Regions from separate parts of the Homo sapiens genome. Here region 1 is linked to region 2. Evidence: promoter capture Hi-C in 16 types of primary human blood cells and fetal thymus (Javierre and others, 2016). All regions are on one chromosome and are shown on one strand. Each heading gives the region's core, a stretch centred on a gene start or on the middle of the fragment in contact. The rest is flanking DNA. Distances are from core to core; before and after follow the strand shown.

The links. Contacts are between HindIII fragments. The CHiCAGO score rates a contact against its expected background, and 5 or more counts as called.
Region 1: a fragment that was not itself captured here is called in contact with the fragment with the promoter of BTBD1 in region 2 in 11 of 17 cell types (total CD8 T cells, naive CD8 T cells, total B cells and 8 more); the score reaches 13.4 in total CD8 T cells.

The regions. Positions count from the first base shown.
Region 1 is chr15:82,545,558-82,551,953 of GRCh38, forward strand. CPEB1 (cytoplasmic polyadenylation element binding protein 1) reads right to left here. Exons shown (of 13, transcript NM_001365242.1): 10 at 3,903-4,101; 11 at 1,586-1,680; 12 at 884-964. Among named protein-coding and RNA genes, the nearest start is that of RPS17, 8.3 kb to the left of the region's middle. The HindIII fragment of the contact is 1,847 bases long and covers 3,873-5,719 here.
Region 2 is chr15:83,063,091-83,069,762 of GRCh38, forward strand. BTBD1 (BTB domain containing 1) reads right to left here and starts at 4,162. Exons shown (of 8, transcript NM_025238.4): 1 at 3,661-4,162. The coding sequence starts at 4,061. It overlaps MIR4515 (microRNA 4515), which reads left to right and starts at 4,245; the gene lies at 4,245-4,325. RefSeq lists silencers at 3,480-3,649, 3,890-4,369, 6,246-6,295 and enhancers at 4,430-4,549, 4,560-4,609, 6,047-6,341. The HindIII fragment of the contact is 13,987 bases long and covers 1-4,910 here.

The DNA of each region.
Region 1 (6,396 bases), core at 3,546-6,045, 520 kb before region 2:
CCCAAACCCACTGAATCAGAATCTAAGATCCTCAGGTGATGTGTCTGTAATTAAGGTTTGAGAAGCACTGCCAAACACATCCAGATCCACATTCCATCACCCAGGAACATTCAATAGAAAGCCACCTCGCTGCTTTCTGCCTGTCGCTGACACCTGTGGGTACAGCCCAGATGCAAATATCAAAGTCGTCCAGAAGTTCAGATGTAAAGGAGGACGAGGCATCCTCCTTTACAGAAAAATCAGCTTAGAAGGCTTCAGGGTTAGGCAGCTGAGCCTGGCTCCCACGTGCTGCTGACCACACCCAGCCAGGCTTCCATCATCTACAAAACCACCTCTCAGCAATAGTGGCATACTGCATAGCAATATCCCAGGCAAGAAAAAGACCAAAGTATAAAGACTCAATTCAACATATTTTCTTAAGAGTTCTGGATCAAGCTATCTAAAGTATGTCTGTCCCGGTCTGACCTTCAGCAAACATTACTGCTGCCTCCTCTATGCTCTCAGACACCACAGGGTACCTCAGAACTCCAACATTCAATGTCATGAACTTGGCATAACAATTTTTTTTTTTTGACACGGAGTCTCGCTCTGTCCCAGGCTGAAGTGCAGTGGCGTGATCTCGACTCACTGCAACCTCCGCCTCCTGGGTTCAAGCTATTCGCCTGCCTCAGCCTCCCAAGTAGCTGGGATTACAGGCGCCTGCCACCACGCCAGGCTAATTGTTGTATTTTTAATAGAGACGGGGTTTCACCATGTTGGCCAGGCTGGTCCTCCTGATCCGCCCACCTTGGCATCCCAAAGTGCTGGGATTACAGGTGTGAACCACCGCGCCCAGCCAACAATTTTTAATAGAGGGCAGGGACTTCATAGACATCGGACCCACCTGATCTCGACAGAAGAAAGGACCAGGCTGAGAACTGCAGATATGACACAGAGAATCTTCTAGGTAGGGGTCAATCTGAACCTGCACAAAGGCAAAATAAGATGATGAAGTGGCTCTTCTTACCAGGAGGCTCGATAGGCGATAGAAGAAGGGCACATTATTGGCCACACACAGGAATGCGGGATATTGGAATGCAGGATATTTGCCTGTTTTAAAGGAGGCTTGGAGAGAATTATGGGCCTGAAGTACAGAAAGGAGTTCTAGAGGACAGACTCATACACCATGCACAGTCAGGCTGGATGCCTCTGGGATTCAGGCAACCACACACCTTAATGCCTGGTCTTCTAGGCAAACTGTACCTCAGCCCTCTATCAATTAGCAGTATAGGCAAGTGTTCGGAGGATTCCCAAAAGGTTGGAAAATAGGAAGTCAGGCTACTGAGCAATGCCAAAGAAATACCACAGTGAGGGAAGGCACCCTACACACTGAAGAGGCTCAACAGTCCCAGTTCCCTTCCTCCTGGGCGTACAAAGACCAAGCCCACTCCCAAACCCTAACCTCAATGTTAATTCTCAGGAATTTGGCTCACTTCCCTAAACACACCCAGCACAAACAGCTTCAGGTCTCAGGCCTGCCCTGGGTAGTAACTGCCCAAACCCCTCTCATATACCCCAGAGTAAGGGCATAAACCAGCCAACTCACCTTCTTTGTGAACTTGGTGGTTTTGATCTCCACAAAAGCAGCGCTGACTGCTTTCAGGTAACTCCGTTGGTTATTGAAAGTCACACGACCAGAACCTAGGACAACAGACACAAGCTTCCCTTCTAACCAAATTCTCCCAAATGCTACTTTTTTTTTTTTTTTTTTTTTTTTTGAGATGGAGTCTCGCTCTTTCGCCCAGGCTGGTGTGCAGTGGCGCAATCTCTGCTCACTGCAAGCTCTGCCTCCCGGTTTCACGCCATTCTCCTGCCTCAGCCTCCCGAGTAGCTGGGACTACAGGCATCTGCCACCACACCCAGCTAATTTTTTGTATTTTTAGTAGAGATCGGGTTTCACCATTAGCCAGCATGGTCTTGATCTCCTGACCTTGTGACCCGCCCGCCTCAGCCTCCCAAAGTGCTGGGATTACAGGCGTGAGCCACCGAGCCTGCCCTAATGCTACTCTTTTAAAATGCAGGAAACCCTTTACGATACTAGTGCTGTCCGACAGAAATATAATGTGAGCTACTATGTAACTTTATTTATTTTTTGAGACAGGGTCTCCCTCTGTCACTCAGGCTGGAGTGTAATGGCGTGATCTCAGCTCACTGCAACCTCTGCATCCCAGGCTCAAACAATCTCCTGCCTCAGCCTCCCAAGTAGCTGGGACTACAAGCATGAGCCACCATGCCTGGCTAATTTTTGTATTTTTTTGTAGAGACAGGGTTTCACCATATTGTCCAGGCTGGTCTTGAACTCCTGGACTCAAACGATCTGCCCCACCTCGGCCTCCCAAAGTGCCAGGATTATAGGTATAAGCCATCATGGTCAGCCCTTATGTAACTTTAAATTTTCTAGTAGTCACACTGAAATTTTAAAACAGTGGTGACATTAATTTTAATAATATATTTTATTGGCCGGGCACGGTGGCTCACACCTGTAAACCCAGTGCTTTGGGAGGCCAAGGTGGGCGGATCATGAGGTCAAGAGATGGAGACCATCCTGGCTAACATGGTGAAACCCCGTCTCTACTAAAAATACAAAAATTAGCTGAGCGTGGTGGCGCACACCTGTAGTCCCAGCTACTCAGGAGGCTGAGGCAGGAGAATCACTTGAACCCAGGAGGCAGAGGTTGCAGTGAGCTGAGATAGCACCACTGCACTCCAGCACGGCAACAGAGTGAGACTCCATCTCAAAAAAAAAATTTTATTTAACCCTATATGTTAATAATATTATTTCCAAATGTGACAACAGCTGTGTTTCCAAAACTCAATGGGGCCACATTTAGCTGGTAGCTACCATATTCGTACCATATTTGACAGTGGAGATCATGTTAGCGTGAACCATTCAGGAATGGGGGAAGAATTTGCAGATCAAGATGGGAAGGAAAGATAAGGGACTCCTTCAGTGCAGGTAGAGCATAGGTTAAGGTTAAAGGATTCAGAGTGGAAGCCAAGATGCAGATAGAACACTTGTCTGAAGGGTAAGCCCAGCAGTTGAACTGAACCTCTCCTAGCCCTTAGGCACTCTGGAGACCTATTAAGAGAGCTGGAAGAAGCCCCATCCTGCCAAGTTCCTCCTCCGCTCCTGGGGCTTCTGAAGTCCCTGTTCTCAATCTGCTGCACAGTATTGGTGAGTACATGGTGCTCCTTCCTGACCAGATTCAGTGTGGGTGTGAAGACTAAGCATTTGGGGAGGTGGGTTAGCCACATGTTAATCACAGAGGTCAGGCTCTGCTCCACCTCCATACCTCATCATTGACATTTTGCCAGGACTGGCGAATTGACCTCCTTTCTCAGAGGAGCTGATCAAAACCTAGTGGTTAGGCCCACAGACTTCTGAGTTAGGAAAGCACAGGCCACACTCTGTTGCCTGACTCACTCAGAAAGTCCTCCTCCAGCCTGACCTGGTCTCTGACCTTAGACAATGCCAGAGCTTTTCAAGAACTTTTAATAAAAAACTCCAGGCAAGTTCAGAGAATTGCAGCCTTTTCATGAAATAGTACCTGTTGTCTGTTCCAAACTGGTTTCGCTGTGAACTCTGAGCTTCCAACAAAGTTCCTACCTCACTCTCACTTCTTATCACCTCCTGTAGTCTCCAATAGCTTTTTCTCCCACTGCGTGGGAGATGGTGGGTAGAGGGCTAGATACAGAAGGGCCAGTACTCGTGACTTGTCTAGAAAAAGATATTATGGTGCTGGTATATGCTGATCTGCAGACCTGGGTCAGGCCTCTCTCCTCACTCCCATGGGGAAGTATCACAATCTTGGTCTACTCCCAGGGGCCAACCAAGCTTTCGCACACAGAAGTGGGACACTTACCAATGGGATACTTGTGCTTATCTGTGTCAATCCCGGCATACACCACTCCACCAAATAGGTCGTTCAAGATGGCTGCCAGGGCCTCAGCATTTAGCATTCCATGCAGAGCACCGACAAACACCGTCCTGCTGGGGTCAAGCCTCTGAGATGGGCTCCGGACAAAGTTACTGTCGGCTAATACCCAGGGGATCACCTGCACCTGAAAACCACCCAAAGGTGTATCAGCCCTGGCAGAGAGCCACAGAGAGAGAGGTGCTTGCACGGCAAGGTACGTGCTCTGGAGATACTGAAGCTAAGCTAACGCCCTTACAGGGGTGAAAAGGTGCTGTTGCCCAATCTCAGGCACACAGGCGTCCAATAAACCACCCTGACTCCACCCCAACTGGAGTTGAATTTTACTGAGTCCATGTGTCCAGAATGGTAGAAGTGGACACAGTACTCACTCATGCTGGAGAGTAAGCAAAAAAGTACCACATGGCCAAACCCAGGAGCCCAGCATTCTATTTCAACCTCCAACTGTGTAGTTCCAACAAAGGGCTGTGGACACTGATGAAAAGGGCATAATCTGAAGTCCTCAAGAAAGGAAGGACTCACAGAGAAATTAAAGGCTAGGATCCTGAAGGACAGAGGGGTGGGAGTGCTTACGATATTTGTATGAGATGGTTACTGGCCCAACCTAGCCTTCAGAGGGTTTGTGCCAGAGCAGTGGAAATGACTGGCGAGAGGTTGGGTAGAAAGTCACATACAAGATCCCTGGAGTCTTAAAGGGCTGGGGCTGACCATGTCCTTTGCCTCTGAATCTCCTGAACCTGGAACAAAACCTTGTAGAGCAGGTGGAGGAGTCCAGAATGAAGTGAAGATCTAAAAATATGTCTTGAAGCAGGAAGAGATCTGAGGCAGAAACCAGCAAGGAGGCAAAAACAGTAGTTTCAAAGGACAGGTGATTAAGACTTGGACAAGGCTGGTGGCAACGAGCAGAGAACAGGCCAAGACCAAAGAGATTCTTCAACAGAAGAGTCTGCAGTACTCAGACAGCATAAGCAGGATGGGCAAGCAAGGAAGAATCAGGCCTGGTAGGTGCTGGGCCTACACGGTCTTGGGATGAGAGGACCTGGCAGAAGTTACAAGAGGGGAGCCAATTTCACTGGAAGATGAAAAAGCCAATTTTGCCCACAAAAGAGTTTGGGATTACAGGACATCCCGAAGAAGGATCCCACAGGAAGGTGAGGCTCAGGTAGGACATGAGGCTAGAAAGGTGAATCTGGGTCTAAAGGTGAGAGAAGCCACAAAGTGAGTCATTTATCTGAACTAGAAAAGAAGAAGGGAGTCAAAGATTGGCTATATTGGCTATGTTGGTGCTGGCGGGGAGAGGAACACAAAGGAAAAAGAAAAGTAGAGAGGAAGGAGAACTGCATCAGCCTATAGCCAGTGAATCAAAGAAAGATTAAATCCCTGTAAGGTGATGGGAGGGAATGGGAGACAGGATGGTGTCTACAGGGGCACTGAGGAGGAAGGGGAAGGGCTCTGTGATATGCATATGGCCATCTCTGGTTGTGAAAGCAGGAGGGGAGGAAAAAGGAGCATGTTAATTAAGTCCTAGAACATACTAAGGTGGGAAGACTACACAAGCTCCAGAGAATAAAGAAGCAGAGAAGGTAGGGAAGCTGTGGGTCACTGTGGGCAGCCAGAGGATGAGCCTGCCCTCTCTCTAACACAGAACAAGAGCCAGCTTTGTTACATGGATTTATTTTAAATCTAATGTGACCATCCCAATAAAATAGGCATTTCTCCTCTTACCCTATAGATTTTTTTAGAGAAGCTTTAAGGTTTACAGTAAATCTGAGCAGAAAGTACAGGGATTCTCCAAATACTCTCTGCCCCCACACTTGCGTGACTTCCCCACTATCAGGATCCCGCATGAGAGTGGAACATTTTTTTATACTGACCCATCATCCCCACCGAAAGTCCATGGTTTGCATCAGAGTTCACTCCTGGTGTTTCTTTTACCTTCTATGGGTTTGGACCAAAGTATAATGACATGTATCCACCATATACAGAATAGTTTCACTGCCCTAAAAATCCTCTGTGCTATGTCTCTTCATCCCTTCCTGCTAAACCCCTGGCAACCACTGATCTTTTTTACTAAAATAGGCATTTTAGTTTCCCATCTTATAGAAGAGAAGAGGAAACAAAGTTTCAGAGATATTAAATATCTAGTCCAATGTCACAAAAGTTGTGTGCTCTCAAATCCGATTTTACCACCGCACTGATTCCTGAGCTCAAAACTTGCTTTGACAAGTGGTTCTCAAACACTACCCACTAGAACCACCTGGGGATCTTTATTCAGTTGGAGATTCCTAAATTCCACCCAGAGTGATTCAGTAAGTCTGGGATAAGGCCCAAGAATGTGCAATGAGATCCCCAGGTGAGATAAACTCGTTAGAGACCCATGCTGCCAAGGATACATAAGGCTGATATTAGAAAAAGCGTAGGA
Region 2 (6,672 bases), core at 2,912-5,411:
TCTTGAAATGTTTTGACTTGACTTTCAGAATATAATGCTCCTTCTTTCTCTTCTAATTCCACTGACAGCTGCTTCTCAGTTTCATTTTATGCTTTTTCTCTGCTACATCTCTACATATTTGAAGATTCCAGAGCTCATCCTTGTACCTCTCTTCACAGTCTACATGCCTTCCTAGGTAATCTCACTTGATCTCTCGATTTAAATACCATTCACTCTTAACTTGCAAATTTATGTTCAGCAAGCTGTTCCCTCACCTCCAAATTCATATTTCTGTCTACTCTATGACACTACTTGGATGTCTTGGAAGTCCTCTTGGTTGTACCTTCAAAAATATATCCAGAATTTGACCATGTCTCATCATGTCCTTTGCTACCTCCCTGGTACAAGGTACAATTCACCATCGCCTCTTGCCTGGACTACTGCAAAAGCCTCTTCATCTATCACCTTGCTGCCTATTTTACTCCAACCACTGCCAGAAAGAGTTTGTTTTTTTAAAATGTAAATCAGATCACAACCTCCTGCCACCACCTCCGCCTCCCCAATCTCATTCAAAACTCTCCAAAGGCTTTCCATCAAATACCAGCTGAAAAAGTCTTCGCTCAGTCTCTAAAGCCCTGCACCATCCTGTCTGGCCTATCTTTTTGACCTCATTTTCTACCACTTCCCTCTACTGTGCTTAAGGCACACTGGTTCACTCTTGTGTTCCTCCAACAGGAGATACTTAGTGCCGAAAACAATGCGTTCCCTTGCTGAGAATGTTCCTTCTCTCATAACTTGATTATTTTTCTTCAAAACATTCATCAGTACTTGACATTGTATCTTTAGTTTCCCTTTACTAGATTATGTGCTTCATGAGGGCAAGGACTTTTTCTTGTTTATTGCTGTGTCCCAAACACCTACAACAGCCATTCGCTGTTTCACAAGCGCCCCAAAAGGGAGGCATATAGTATTTGTCAAACAACTGAAGAACATCATTTAAAGGTCAGGCAGTTCAAAGTGCACAGTTTCTTTAAGGGCTTCAAACTTAAGTTCATGAGCCTGTAAGTAATGTTAACTAATTCAGGATGTTTACAAGTATGCCCAAACTAACCTGCTCTTCCAACTTAGCAAGTACTATCAGGCATCTTTTTGTCACGTATTAGCTAACAACAACATCTACGTTACACAGCCAGCCAAAATTAAATTTAGAAATCAGTCCAGATATCAATTTCAAAATAGAACAATGACCAGAACCTGAAGGATAAATACAATGCTAGGAAAATAAAACACACTGAAAATGTAAAAATGAAAAAAAAGTTTAAAAATGTAAAAAATGTTTTACAATGTGAAAAAAAAAATTGCACTGTCCTACATTTCAAACACTCTAAAATTAACTTACTTTCTATTGATGGGAAAGCACTAATTAGCAGCTTCGGTGAAAATATTAAAATATGTATTTTTCCTCTACATTCTTATCCTAGTAATCTCAATATTTTTTCAAAGTAAAAAATTGCCCCAAAATAGTTTTAGATTTGTGGTTCTTAAATTTAGTTTGTATAAGTATCACTTAGGGAGAGTGTTAAAAATGCTACCAAGGTCTCACCTCCAAATATTACGGTATATAATGAGGATGAGATCTACACATTTCATAAGCACCCCAGAAGATTATAATGCAGACGGCCCACAGATCATTTTGAAAACTACTTCTAGTCTAGAAAATCCAAATGAACTATACCCAATCCTCCTGGTGAACTTTAAACTAAAATGACCTGGATTTTAGCTTTTGAGGTCCCCCCCCTTTATAAATGTAACTGAACTAAATTACAGAAAATATCAGAAACAAAGAATAAAGAAGAAAAAAAGGTACTTTCATCTCACTACTCCAGGTGACTTTGCTTAGCATTTTGGTATGTTTCCTTTTATCCCGGTCTCTAGGTATATGTTTGTTCCATGTCTTTTCACGTTGTAACCATGGTGCAGTTTCAAGTGCTATCCGTCATATTTAGTGACTGCATTATATCTCATCAAGTGAACCTACCACTGTTTAACCATTCCCTACAGCTGACTACTTCCTCACTACTATAAATAAAGCTGTAAATATTTTTGTATGCAATTTGCAATACTTGAATGCTTCTTACGTGTGGAAAGAAAATCTATAGCACCAAACTGTTTTCCAAAAGGGTTTTTACCACCATCTTTGTCAGAAAATGCTGTTCAGATGTTACCTTTAAATTTTTTGGTGGGATTAATGGAAGGAAAAAATACCACTGTCTTTTAATTTGCACTTCCTAATTACCAGCCAGGTAAAACATTCGTTAATTAGTTGTATTTTTTCTTTCTCTAAGTTATCTATCCTGTCCTTTATCCATTCGTCAATGGAATCTTATTATTTGTTTCTAGTTGTGTGAACTTTACATTCATTTTCTTGTTCATCTTTCTGATTCAACTGTGAACCTTTGTATCTAATTCTGTCCCACTGACCTGCCTGTTTTTGCTTCAGTACTACCCAAGACTCTGCCATTTTAATAACAACACGTTCTACTCAGGCAGCTATTTAAAACCATCTTAGTATAATGAAACAGACATGGTCTTCAGTGTGAGTTAGCTGTTTGTTACCTTGGGCAAGATACTTGACTCTTCTGGGCCTCAGTCCCATTTGTGAAATTGGGGTAAACAATTCTTACGCCTCCCTAACAGGATGGCTGTGATTAAAAGCTAGTAATGCCAAACAATCACCTTTTCATTAGATGTCAATCTACTATCCTCAAATAACCAACAAGCAAATTCTAACATCAAGGGAGGGATTCATTTATAAGCAAATGTGACCTTGTGTGTAGAAACACAAAGCAGGTAAAGCCTCACTTGTCTGTTTTCGTATTTACTTTCCTGGGTCTTGACAACTAATACGTTAATGAAAAACAAAAACAAAAACAAAAAAGTGGCCAGGCGCGGTGGTTCACGCCTGTAATCCCAGCACTTTGGGAGGCCGAGGTGGACGGATCGCTTGACCCCAGGAGTCCGAGACCAGCCTGGGCAACATAGTGAAACCCTCTCTCTACCAAAAATAAAAATAAAAAAAATTAGCCGGGCGTGGTGGCGCGTGCCTGTAGTCCCAAATACTCGGGAGGCTGAGGTCGGAGCATCACCTGAGCCCGGAGAGGTCGAGGCTGCAGTGAGCCATGATCGCGCTACAGCATTCCAGCCTGGGCAACAGAGCAAGACCTTGTCTCAAAAAAAGCGGGGGGAAGGGGGTGACAATAACCCCAAAACATCAGTCCTGCAAGATTTTTCAACTACTCTCTTCCCCCAAACAAAAACATAAAACTTCGCAAATGGGCAATCAGGACAACCTGATCTGCCCCTCTATCCTTGCCACTTGTCTAATTCTGAAGTCTGAGCGACAATCCATAATTGGAATGCGAAACGCCTTTCAATGGTAAAACGCACGCTTGCCTAATGAAGACACTAACGTTTAGTTGGCGACTGAGCCGTCCTGGTTCACAGATTTCGATTTCGACCCTCCGGAGCATCAACGGCTCGGGAGGAAACTGAGGCCCCGGGCGGGTCAGAAGAGCCCAGCCCAAGGTCATCCGGGAGTCCGGGTAGGCCGGGCCCCGGGGATCTCCCAGCCCGGCCCGGCCCGGCCCGGCCCGGCCCGGCCCGGCCCGCGCTGCCGCTCACCTCAGCAGCGCCAGGAAGGCTGCGGGCTCCACGTCCGGCAGCTCGATCTCGGCCGACGTGGTGGCCATGCCGCCGTTGAACATGGCGTCAAAGACGGCGCTGCCGGCCGCCAGCACGAAGCGGTGGGCGGGGATGCGCTGCGGGCCCCCAGCGGCGGCGGCGCCGCGACCCTTGCCCAGTACGAAGCGCACATCGCTCAGCAGCTCCGAGTTGAAGAGGAAGGCGAAGCGCTCCTTCAGCGACGCCTTGGTCGCCTGCCAGTTGTAGAGAGGTTCCCGCTGCAGGGGGAGCAGGGGCCCCAGAGAGGACGGTGAGGGCGGCGGCGGCGGCCCCGCGGGGCCCGGCTCCGCCTCAGCCCCCGACGCCTGCTCCCCAGCTGCGGCAGGCCCGAGTGAGGCCATCCTCCAGCTGCGCGGTTGCCCACGTTATGGACAAAACTCCGCCGCCATCGCCCAGGCCGCCTCCGGAGGCCGGCGCTGCCTCCCTGCCTTCCGGGAAAGGCGCTTCCGGGGGCCTCGCGCCTCCGCAGGCCCCTCCCTGACCGCGCGCGCCCCCGCACGCCCGGGTTGCCGCTGTGCGCGGCCGCGGGAGGTGTAACAGGACTGGACTCCCGGCAGCCCCAGGGCAGGGGCGTGGGGAGCTGGTCCTAGCTCAGCGCTCCCGGAGGTGGAGCTTCTGCAGGCTGGGTGCTGCCGGGCCTACGGGCACCCACCCCCTGGCTCAGTGCCCTGGGTATTCTGACTCAGTAGGTCTGGGGTAGGGCCTGAGAATTTGTAATTTTAAGATGCATCGTGGATCTGCAGGCGGCTCTCACGGCTGCCTTTTTCTTCCTGCAGGCCCCTTATCACCAAGTCCAGCGCCCCCATTGTGTATCTGGGACATGTCCCAAGGCCTGTCCCGAGGAGTGTTTTGCCTGGAAGTGGAGGGGCAGGAAAGTATGGCCAAGGGAACACGTGAGGGAGGGGATGACATGACTTCCCACAACCCTGTACCCCAAGCGTGGCCAAGTCGCCGCTCCAGAAGGCCGCGAAACCCGTGGAAATTCCGGAAGCAGAGGTGGAAGGCTTAGAACCCCAGTGACCTCTCCCCAGGTCCGCAGGTCCCTTTCCCTTCTAATTGACCCTTTGGTTCCGTCCTCTGGGCCTAAGAGACATTTCCTTCTACTGCTTCCACCCCTGTATTTGAAACCCCTCGTGCTTGCCCACCTTCTCTTGTAGCGCTTTTCAGTCCTTGCACTGAACCACTGCCTAAGCTTGAAATTTAAAAAATTAAAAACTAAAACACACACACAATGGAAAAGGCTGTATTATCCCTTCCCAGGCAGTATTTACAACCCGGTCATCATGATTGGGGGACCGAGGCCTTCCTTTTTCTCCCTTCAGTGAGGCAGGCCCTGAGTTAAGTCAGCTGTCAAAAGCAGAACGTAGAAAACCCAAGAAATAGTCCTTGACCAGGCACGTATAGTTGGAAACACCTGTTCTTTGCAGGAAGAGCCTTACAGATTACAAATGCCGTCAAGTAAATAGTAAACCCCAAACCTGGGTTTCTCCTGTAAAATCACTCCACTTGTGAAACCACCAGAGGGGACTTCCAGCTGTTAGGCATTTAGAATGGTAACTTCTTTGGGAGAGGAACGTGCTTGGGAAGAGACTTAAAGTAGTAGGGGCTGAAATAGTGGATGCACAACCCCTTCCCCATTGCCAGCCGGCAATTCCTAAAGACAAAGGGACATCATGCTACTAATGATACCATTATCACACCTAACAAAATTAACCATATCATCAAATCATCTATATATGATTTTTTTTTTTTTGAGACGGAGTCTCGCTCTGTTGCCAAAGCTGGAGTGCAATGGCATGAAGTCTGCCTTCCGGGCTCAAGCGATTCTCCTCCTCAGCCTCCCGAGTAGCTGGGGTTACAGGTGCGTGTCACCACATCCAGCTAATTATTTGTATTTTTAGTAGAGACGGGGTTTCACCATATTGGCCAGGCTCCTCTCCAAGTCCTGACCTCGTGATCTACCCGCCTCGGCCTCCCAAAGTGCTGGGATTACAGGCATGAGCCACCAGGCCTGGTCCTATGTATAATATTTAATGTACAGTTAATATTTGTTTCTCCACTTGTCTCTAAAAAAATTTTTTTTTGAGACGGAGTCTTGCTCTGTTGCCCAGGCTGGAGGGCAGTGGCATGATCTCCGCTCACTGCAAGCTCTGCCTCCCACGTTCACGCCATTCTCCTGTCTCAGCCTCCCGAGTAGCTGGGACTACAGGCACCTGCCACCAAGCCTGCTGATTTTTTTTTTTTTTTGTATTTTTAGTGTGTCCAGAGTTCGTTCCTTCTGGTGGGTTCGTGGTCTTGCTGACTTCAAGAATGGAGCTGTGGACCTTCCTGATGAGTTTTATAGCTCTTAAGATGGCAGGGACCCAAAGACTTCTTCTGAAGAGCAAAAGAACAAAGCCCTTATGTCATGGAAAGGAACCCCAACGGGTGGTTGCAGTCTCTGGGCGTGGGGGCAGGAGGGGAGGGGCCGGCGGGGGTGGGGGGGGTGGAGTCAGCTTTTACTTCCTTATTTGTCCCCGCCCATGTCCTGCTGATTGGTCCATTTTACAGAATGCTGATTGGTGCACTTTACAGAGTGCTGATTGGTCTATTTTACAGGGTGCTGATTGGTCCATTTTACGGAATGCTGATTGGTCCATTTTACAGAGTGCTGATTGGTCCACTTTACAGAGTGCTGATTGGTCCATTTTACAAACCTCTAGCTAGCCACAGAGTGCTGATTGGTGTGTTTTTACAGAGCACTGACTGGCACATTTTACAAACCACTTGTAAGACAGAAAAGTTCTTCAAGTCCTCACCCTACCCAGAAGTCCAGTTGGCTTCACCTGTCATTAGTAGAGACGGGGTTTCACCGTGTTAGCCAGGATGGTCTCAATCTACTGACCTTATGATCTGCCCACCTTGGCCTCCCAAAGTGCTGGGATTACAGGCATGAGCCACTGTGCCTGGCCA